Regions from separate parts of the Homo sapiens genome. Here region 1 is linked to region 2. Evidence: promoter capture Hi-C in 16 types of primary human blood cells and fetal thymus (Javierre and others, 2016). All regions are on one chromosome and are shown on one strand. Each heading gives the region's core, a stretch centred on a gene start or on the middle of the fragment in contact. The rest is flanking DNA. Distances are from core to core; before and after follow the strand shown. Region 1 has its middle 7.0 kb from the start of MON1B. Region 2 holds the start of NUDT7 (nudix hydrolase 7).

Region 1 (4,597 bases), core at 1,198-3,697, 540 kb after region 2:
ACAAAAAAAAAGCAGATCATTTAAAAGTAAAATGTCAAAACATTTTAAACTATGAGATAATGCAGGTATTATAACATCTGAGGGTCTATGTTACTATCAGAAAAAAATACTTCAAAATAAGAAATATTAAAACAGGACATATCATGATGATACAAAGTTCAAGAATATGTTTTCATCCAGAAGACACAACAATCCTAAATATACATATATGAATGCAAAACTTCAAAATACACAAATGTCAAATTGACAGAAAATAAAGGAGAAATAGACAAATCCCTAATTATAGTTGGAGATTTCAGCACTCCATGCTCAGTAATTGACAGAACACTAAGGTAGAAAACAAGAAAGGGTATAGCTAATGTGAACAACTATCAGCCAAATCAACTTAATTGACATTTGTAAAAATACTCCTCCCAATTATAGTAGAGTATACATCCTTTTAAAGTGTACATGGGACACTCACAAGGTACAGCATATGCTGGAAGATAAAACAAGCTTTAATACGTTTTTAATAAGTAAAATTATAAAGAAGGTGTTCTTCGATTACAATAGAATTAAAATAGAAATTATTAACAAAAATATCTGTGAAATCTCTATTGAAAATTAAGACAACACACTTCATATTGACACGTGGATCAAATAATAAATCTCGATGGAATATTAGAAAATATTTTGAACTGAATGAAAATAAAGACACAACAAATAATTTGGAAGATACAAAGCAGTGCTTATAAGAAAGTGTATAACTACATGCTTATGTACATAGGAAGAAATGCCTATAATCAATAGTCTACATGTGAACTTTAAGAAGCTGGAAAATAAGAAGGAAATTAAACCTGAAGTAACTAAGAAGTAAGGGAATAATAAAGATAAGAGTGAAATTTGGTGAGACAGAAAACATACAACCAAAAGAGAAAATCAATGCAACAATATATATATTTTTCGAAAAGATCCATAAAATTACTGAAACTTTTGCTTAAATGATAAAACAGGAGACAAATTACCAATAGTAGGGCTGAAAGAAGGTAACATGATTAGAGATGGCATAGACATACATGGGTAGTAAGAAACTACTATGAGCACTTTAATGGCAAAAACTTTGAGAATATAGAGGAAAAATTACTGAAAGACGCCAATACAAATATTTATTCACAAGGAATGGAACAAACCTGAGGGCTCTATATCACTAAGTAAATTAGATTTATAATTAAAAGTTTTCCCATAAAAATTCCAGGCCTAGATGACATCAATGGTGGATTCAAATATTTAAGTAACAAGTATTACAAATGTTGTATAATTTTGTTCAGAAAAGCAAAAAAAGGGAAAAACTTTTCAACTTTATAATTTGATAATTACCATAATAATAAAACTATAGCAAACATTATAAAAATGAAAAAGCAGGTCAAATTTCTTCAAGAATATGGATTCAAAAATCTGTAGACTATTGAATTCAATATATTGACATATCAAAAGTGAAGAAGAATATCACAAAATTTGATTACTATTCATTAAAGACATTCTTATCAACTAGGAATAAAGGAAAATGTACTTAAGATGATGAGAACATGGAAGAAAAACCTGCAGTTAACTTTAGCCTTTATGGGGAAAGACCGACTACTTTCTCCCTAAGATTAGGGGAAAGTCAAGGATGTCTGTTATTGTCACTTTTGCTCAAGATTACATTGCATATTTAAAGCTAGTATAAATAGAAAAAAAAGAGAAATAAATAAAAACCCCTAAATATTAGTAATGAAAATATCTCTTTTATTCTGAAACAATATGGCATTGTATATAGACATTTTAAGTTATATACATGTGACTGTAACAAGGTTAAAGAATACCAAAATCAATTACATATGGATATACACACAGCAATAATACAGGTAGATACATACACACACACACACAGAAAATTAATGAAGGAAAGGAATATGGAATCTTAAAAGATAAATACCATATGCAATAGCATAAAAACTTAAAATACTTAGGAATAATTATAATGATATATATGCTTATATAATTATAATAATACATATGCCTTAATTATCCACTGTAAAATCATTTTTTTTTTCTGGAGGAACTTAGAAGATTTAGTAAATTGAGATATTCACTATGTCCAACAATTGGAAACTTCTCATTATCAAAATATAAATTCTCCCTAAAATTATCTACTGAATTTTACATAATCCTAATATAAAACCTAGAATGGTTTGTAAAGACAAATTACAAAATTATTTTGATATGAAAATGCCAGTATTTTAGAATAGCCAAGACGTTTCTGAGGAACAAAGATAGACTTAAACTACATTATTTTAATATTTACTGTAAAGCTAAAGTAACAAAGATCACGTATTGATGTAAATATAAATATATAGATCAATTTATCAAATCACACAGTCCTGATTTCTCCACACCTGTATGGTTCAACAAAGATACCAATCTAATTAATTGAAGAGATGCTAATCTTACCAACAAATAGAATTGGAACAGTGGACATTCACATGGAGAAAATGAACTGCAACCCTTATATAACACCATACAAAAATTTAATTTACAGTATATTATACAGCTTAACATAAAAGCTAAAATGGTATTTCTTGTGGAAAACATAGAAGAAAAATTCTACAATCTTGGTGTATATATAATGATTTATTCGTTTTGTCACAAAATCATGAATCATCAACCAAAACAATGAGAAACTGAACTTGAAAAATATGAAAATCTGCTCAAGACAGTGTTAGCAAATGAAAATGCAAGCAATAGACTGAAAAAATACCTGTGCGCATCAAATAACTTGTACCCATAATACAAAAATTTTAAAAGGACATATTAAACTCAATAATATGAAAGCAAACAATTCAATAAAAAAGATTTAAACAGAAACTTGATCAAATAAGACACAAAAGGCCAATAAGTCCATGAAAAAATGCTTACCATAATAATCAGTCCTAAAAAGGCACATTGTATCTAGAGTAAGAATTGACCACATACTAGCTAGAATTGCTAATATTTAAGAAAAACTTACAATACAAATTGCTCGAGGAAATTTGCAGAAACAAACTCTTCCCCATTGCTGGCAGGAATGCAAGATGGTGCAACTTTGAAAAATGCTTTGGTAGATTCTTATGAGGTATAAATACACACTCTTACTGCATGACTCACCCATTTTATTCTCAGGTATTTACCATGAAACATATGCCCACAAAATTATTTCTGCACACATGCTAACAGCAACTTTCTTTATAGTAAATAAAAACTGGAGAAAAGCTCCAAATATCCAACAAGAAGATAATGGACAATGAATTGTGGTATATTCATAATACTACTCAGCAATAAAAACAACTGAACTATTGATACGTATAACAACAGCATGAATCTCTAAAGTATTTTGCTGAGCAAAACAGCCAGATACAAAAAAGTACACACTTTTTGATTCCATTTGTAAGAAATGCTAGAAAAAAAATCAAATGTATTTTGATAGAAAGCAGACCAGTGTTTGTCTAGTGCAGGGGCTAGGGAGGACTTCAGCAAAGAATCACCAGGGAGGTTTTTTATTTTTGTAAAATTTTTTTCTGAGACAGAGTCTGGCTCTTTCGCCAGATTGGAGTGCAGTGGCACGATCTCGGCTCACTGCAAACTCTGACCTCTGGTTCAAGCGATTCTCCTGCCTCAGCCTCCCAAGTAGCTGGGACTACAGGCCAGTGCCACCATGCCCAGCTAATTTTTGTATTTTAGTAGAGATGGGGTTTCACCATGTTGGCCAGGATGGTCTCGATCTCTTGACCTCGTGATCTGCCCGCCTCGACCTCCCAAACTGCTGGGATTACAGGTGTGAGCCACCGTGCCTGGCCTATTTCTCTTTTATTTTCTTAAAGTGTTTGTGAGTGTATTATTTCTTTCGTAAGTATTCATTTGAATTCAGTTAAACAAACTATTTACATTGTAAAACCAATTCAATATGCAAAGTCTGTTTCTTTAATGATTTCCATGCTATTGAAATTTTGTATTTATTCTTGAGTGTATTTTGGTAATTTTTTTTTTTTAAATTTTGTTTGTTTGTTTAGATGGAGTCTTGCTCTGCCACCTGTGGTGGAGTGTGGTGGTGTGATCTTGGCTCACTGCAGCCTCCACCTCCCAGGTTCAAGCGATTCTCCTGCCTCAGCCTCCTAGCTAGGACTACAGGCAGTTGCCACGATGCCCGGCTAATTTTTAAAAAATATTTTTTAGTAGGGACAGGGTTTCATGATGTTGGCCAGGCTGGTCTCGAACTCCTGGCCTCAGCTGATCCACCTGCCTCGGCCTCCCAAGGTGTGGGATTACAGGCATGAACCACTGCATCTGGCCCTCTTTTGGTAATTTTTATTTTTCAAGGTAAATTTGCCCAATTCATCTAAGCTTTCAAATTAATTAGCATAAAAATTTTCTTAATTTTTTATTCTACTTTTATGTATGTAAAATCTGTAGTGATATTCTTTTATTATTCCAGATAACGGTCATCTGCACCTTTTCAAATTTCTCCTTGATTAATAAACCTAGTGGGTTGCCCTTTTCAAAATATAACCTTTTGGTTTAACTGAAATTCTCTAGTTTTCTCTCC
Region 2 (4,115 bases), core at 1-2,500:
AAAAATTAGCCGGGCATCGTGGCACATGCCTGTAATCCCAGCTACTCAGAAGGTTGAGGCAGGAGAATCGCTTGAACCCAGGAGGCAGAGGCTGCAGTGAGCCGAGATTGCCTACTGCACTGTAGCCAGGGCGGCAGAGTGAGACTCTGTCTCAAAAAAAAAAAAAAAAAAGTGTATACAAATGACTTCTCTGAGTTTCATCTTCATTTGTGTCAGGCTTGAGGATATTTAAGAAGATTAAATGATGCAGTTCATATACTGTGGCTGGCACACAGCTGGTGCTCAGGGAATGGTAACCACTGTCATAAATCTCCCCATCATTAGATAAGCAGTTGTTTGCAGGAGGTATTTGCTATTTTTTGCCTCTTTCTAGGTGGCAGGGTGCTCACCAGATGTGGTTGGGTAACGGCAGTGTATTTCAAAGACCAAATGGCCTGAAAAAAATCAGTGAATGCTGGCACAGGGATTGCACAGTGCATCTGGATGCACGCAGGCCAGCCTCCAGAAAAGGAAACTGTGGGCTGGTGGCTTTTAACCACCCGGAAACCACAGAACTGACCAGACAAACCAGCCAAAGTAAAAGGCTGCAAAAACGTTATCTGTCCACTTTAGGGGCTGGCCGCTGGAATAATCACCAAGGTATCAACAGCAGTAGCAGCCACCCCGTTCTGAGCATGGTCTCAATTTTGACGTTTCTCATTTTATCCTCACAACAGCCCGGCAAGTGATCACAGGGTCACCTCCAGGCTCAGAGAGTTTACGAAACTGACAGACCCAAGGTCACAACTGAAAGTAGCCACCGGGGGACTTGAATCCGGGGCTGCCTGCTGCGGGTCTGTGCCACTGTCGGGGGTCCTGGGGTCCAACTCTGGAGACGCGGATTGCAGAACAGCCAAGCCGGCTGGGAAGGGGAGCAGCGTGTATGTAAACCATACTGGCTTAAGCCGGCTCTGTTCCTGGCCAGAGCAGTGCAAAGGTTCGGGGACCCTGCGGGTTGCTGGAGGCGAGTGCTCCCCCATCCGGCGCTCGCAGGTGGACTGGCGGGAGCTGCAAAATCAGTCCCGGCCAAAAGGCCCCGGTGGCCTCCGCTACGATCAAGGCCGGGCCTGACCAAGCTCGGGGTGCCAGGGCCCGGAAAGCCTTTACCTGACTGGCTCCTCGGGAAGACCAAGTCGTGACATTGCCCTGGGGAATGTTTGTTTCCGGGCGGACTCCTCGGAGCTGCTCGGTCGGTCGCGCTTGCGCAGAGCAGCTCTGGGCTTGGGAGCGGCCTAAAGCCAGAGAGAGGGGCGGGGCTTAGAGCACGAGGCGGGGTGGTGTCTGGGGCGGAGACAGGGGGCGGGGCGGTGCGAGATCTGGGATCGGAGGCCGGGATCGGGGCGGGGCGGGGCTTATAGCCAGAGGCGGGACTTGAGGTGGGGAGAGGCGCGGGGCGGGACTTAGGGCCGGGTGTTCCTGGTTGCTCAAAGCAGTTTCTGCCGGGCTCCTTGGGCTTCTATGGAAGCAAGAGGTATAGGAGGAGTTGTGGAATTTAGAGCTGGAAGAGTTAAAAAAAAAAAAAATACAGTGTTGGTGAGGTGATAATATTTTACACTCGCATTCGCTGTTGCTGGAAGGTTAAGGTGATTCATTCAACTTTTTGGAACTGCTGTCAGCACCTGTTCACCGACCACCTGTATGCACTGGGTGCAGATCCCACAGCTAGCGAAAAGACACGTGGAGCTCACAGTCAAATGGTAGAAACATAAATTAATCACACAGGGCTGGATGCAGTGGCATATGCTTGTAATTCCAACACTTTGGGAGGCCAAGAGGGGAGGATCACTTGAATCCAGGAGTTCGAGCCCAGCCTGGGCAACATGGCGAAACCCCATCTCTACAAAATAAAAATAAAAAATTAGCCAGGCGTGGTGGCACACACCTGTGGTCCCAGCTACTCAAGAGGCTGAGGTGGGAGGATCGCTTGAGCCCAGGAGGTCGAAGCTGCAGTGAGCCGTGATAGCACCACTGCACTCCAGCCTGACAGAGGTAGACCGTCTCAAAAATAAGAAGAAGAAGATAAGAAGTTTTTAATGCAAAAAAAAAAAAAAAAAAAAATCACACTGATAAAGCAGTGGCCTTTGGTCCTTCTAGAGCGTGTGAAGGAGAAATGTGACCCAATTAGGAGACAGAAGAGGCTTGGTAGAGGAAATAGAAGTGCAGCTCATCTTGAAAGCAGTAGTTCTCAAAGTGTGGTCCTCAGACCAGCAGAATCAGGATCACTTTGGTCCTGTTAAAAATGTGGACTCTGGGCCAGGCGCTGTGGCTCACACCTGTAATCCCAGCACTTTGGGAGGCCAAGTCGGGTGGATCACCTAAGGTCAGGAGTTTGAGACCAGCTTGGCCAACATGGTGAAACCCCATCTCTACTAAAAAAACAAAAATTAGCCAGTGGCAGGCGCCTGTAATCTCAGCTACTAGGAGGCTGAGGCAGGAGAATCGCTTGAACCTGGGAGGCGGAGTTTGCAGTGGGCCGAGATCGCGCCATTGCACTCCAGCCTGGGCAAAAAAAAGCGAAACTCTGTCTCAAAAACAAAACAAAACAAAACAACAACAACAACAACAACAAAAACCAAGAAAGAAAGAAAGGAAAGAAAGAAAAGAGAAAAGAAAAGAAAAGAAAAAAGACGAAAAGAAAAGAAAAGAAAAGAAAAGGTGGACTTTGGGGCCCATGTCACAACTGCTGAATCAGAAGCCAGGTGTCAGGCCCAGTGATCTGTGCTGTAAGGGGATTCTGATGCTCTGTGCGGGATAGAGGACATAAATGAGGAAAAAGGCAAGGGAGAGTGTTCAAGGAAGAGGGCAAAGTTTGTGCAAAGACAGCAGAAAGGGGCTGGAGAACAGTGTGTGTGAGGGAGCCTGGTGCGAGCTGAGAATCCAGGGGTCAGTGTAGGGCTGACTTCTCCCTTACAGGCACAGGACACACACAGTAATTTTAGGGACCTGTGAAAATGTTTTAATTGTAATTTCTTTTTAAATTAGAAGAAGAAAAGGTATGTAATAAAAGCAATATATAATAATGAATCCAGCTTGGATGATAGTCATTTTATGAATTCAGTCATAAAATATTCACTTTAAAATTATTTTATGGAAGAAGGGGTGCACAAAAACAAAGTAGCTAGGGCCCATGAAAGTAATATTGTGGCTGGCCCTAGGTCAGTGGGGCAGTTTGTGAAATTATTAATGAAATGAAATATTAATGAAATATCGCTGTGATATTTACAACATCCAGTGTTTACACACCGTGACATCAATGAAATATCGATGTGATATTTATAATATCCAGTGTTTACACACTGTGATATTAATAAAATATGGCTGATATTTGTAATATACAATGTTTACACACCGTGATATTAATATAATATCGCTGTGATATTTATAATACCCAGTGTTTCCACACTGTGATATCAATGAAATGTCTCTGTGATATTTGTAATATCAAGTGTTGATGCACCATAACATCAATGAAATATCACAGATATTTACAACATCCAGTGTTTACACACCATGACCTCAATGAAATATCAATATGATATTTATAATATCCAGTGTGTACACACCGTGATATTAATAAAATATGGCTGTGATATTTGTAATATACAGTGTTTACACACCGTGATATTAAGCAAACATCGCTGTGATATTTATAGTATCCAGTGTTTACACATCGTGATATAAATGAAATATCGCTGTGATGTTTATAATATCCAAGGTTTACAAACTGTGATACCGATGAAACATCGCTGTGATATTTATAATACCCGATGTTTACACAAAGTGTTTACACACTATGATGTTAAATATCGTTGTGATTTTTATAATATCCCGTGTGAAATTAATGAAATATCACTGTGACACTCATAATATCCAGTGTTTACACAGTGCTTACACGCTGTTACGTTAATGAAATATCACTGTGATATTCATAATATCCAGTATTTACACACAGTGCTTACGCACTGTGACATTAACGAAATATCGCTGTGATATTCATAATATCCAGTGTTTCCACACAGTGCTTACACACTGCGATATTAATAAAATATCGCTATGATATTCATAATATCCAGTGT

What was found. The method cuts DNA at HindIII sites, captures the fragments that hold promoters and counts their contacts. A CHiCAGO score of 5 or more calls a contact.
Region 1: a fragment that was not itself captured here is called in contact with the fragment with the promoter of NUDT7 in region 2 in 1 of 17 cell types (non-activated CD4 T cells); the score reaches 5.6 in non-activated CD4 T cells.

The regions. Positions count from the first base shown.
Region 1 is chr16:77,181,867-77,186,463 of GRCh38, reverse strand. No RefSeq gene overlaps it. Among named protein-coding and RNA genes, the nearest start is that of MON1B, 7.0 kb to the left of the region's middle. The HindIII fragment of the contact is 3,900 bases long and covers 498-4,397 here.
Region 2 is chr16:77,719,649-77,723,763 of GRCh38, reverse strand. NUDT7 (nudix hydrolase 7) reads right to left here and starts at 1,250. Exons shown (of 4, transcript NM_001105663.3): 1 at 1,147-1,250. The coding sequence starts at 1,181. RefSeq lists a silencer at 1,275-1,404 and an enhancer at 1,118-1,412. The HindIII fragment of the contact is 15,416 bases long and covers 1-4,115 here.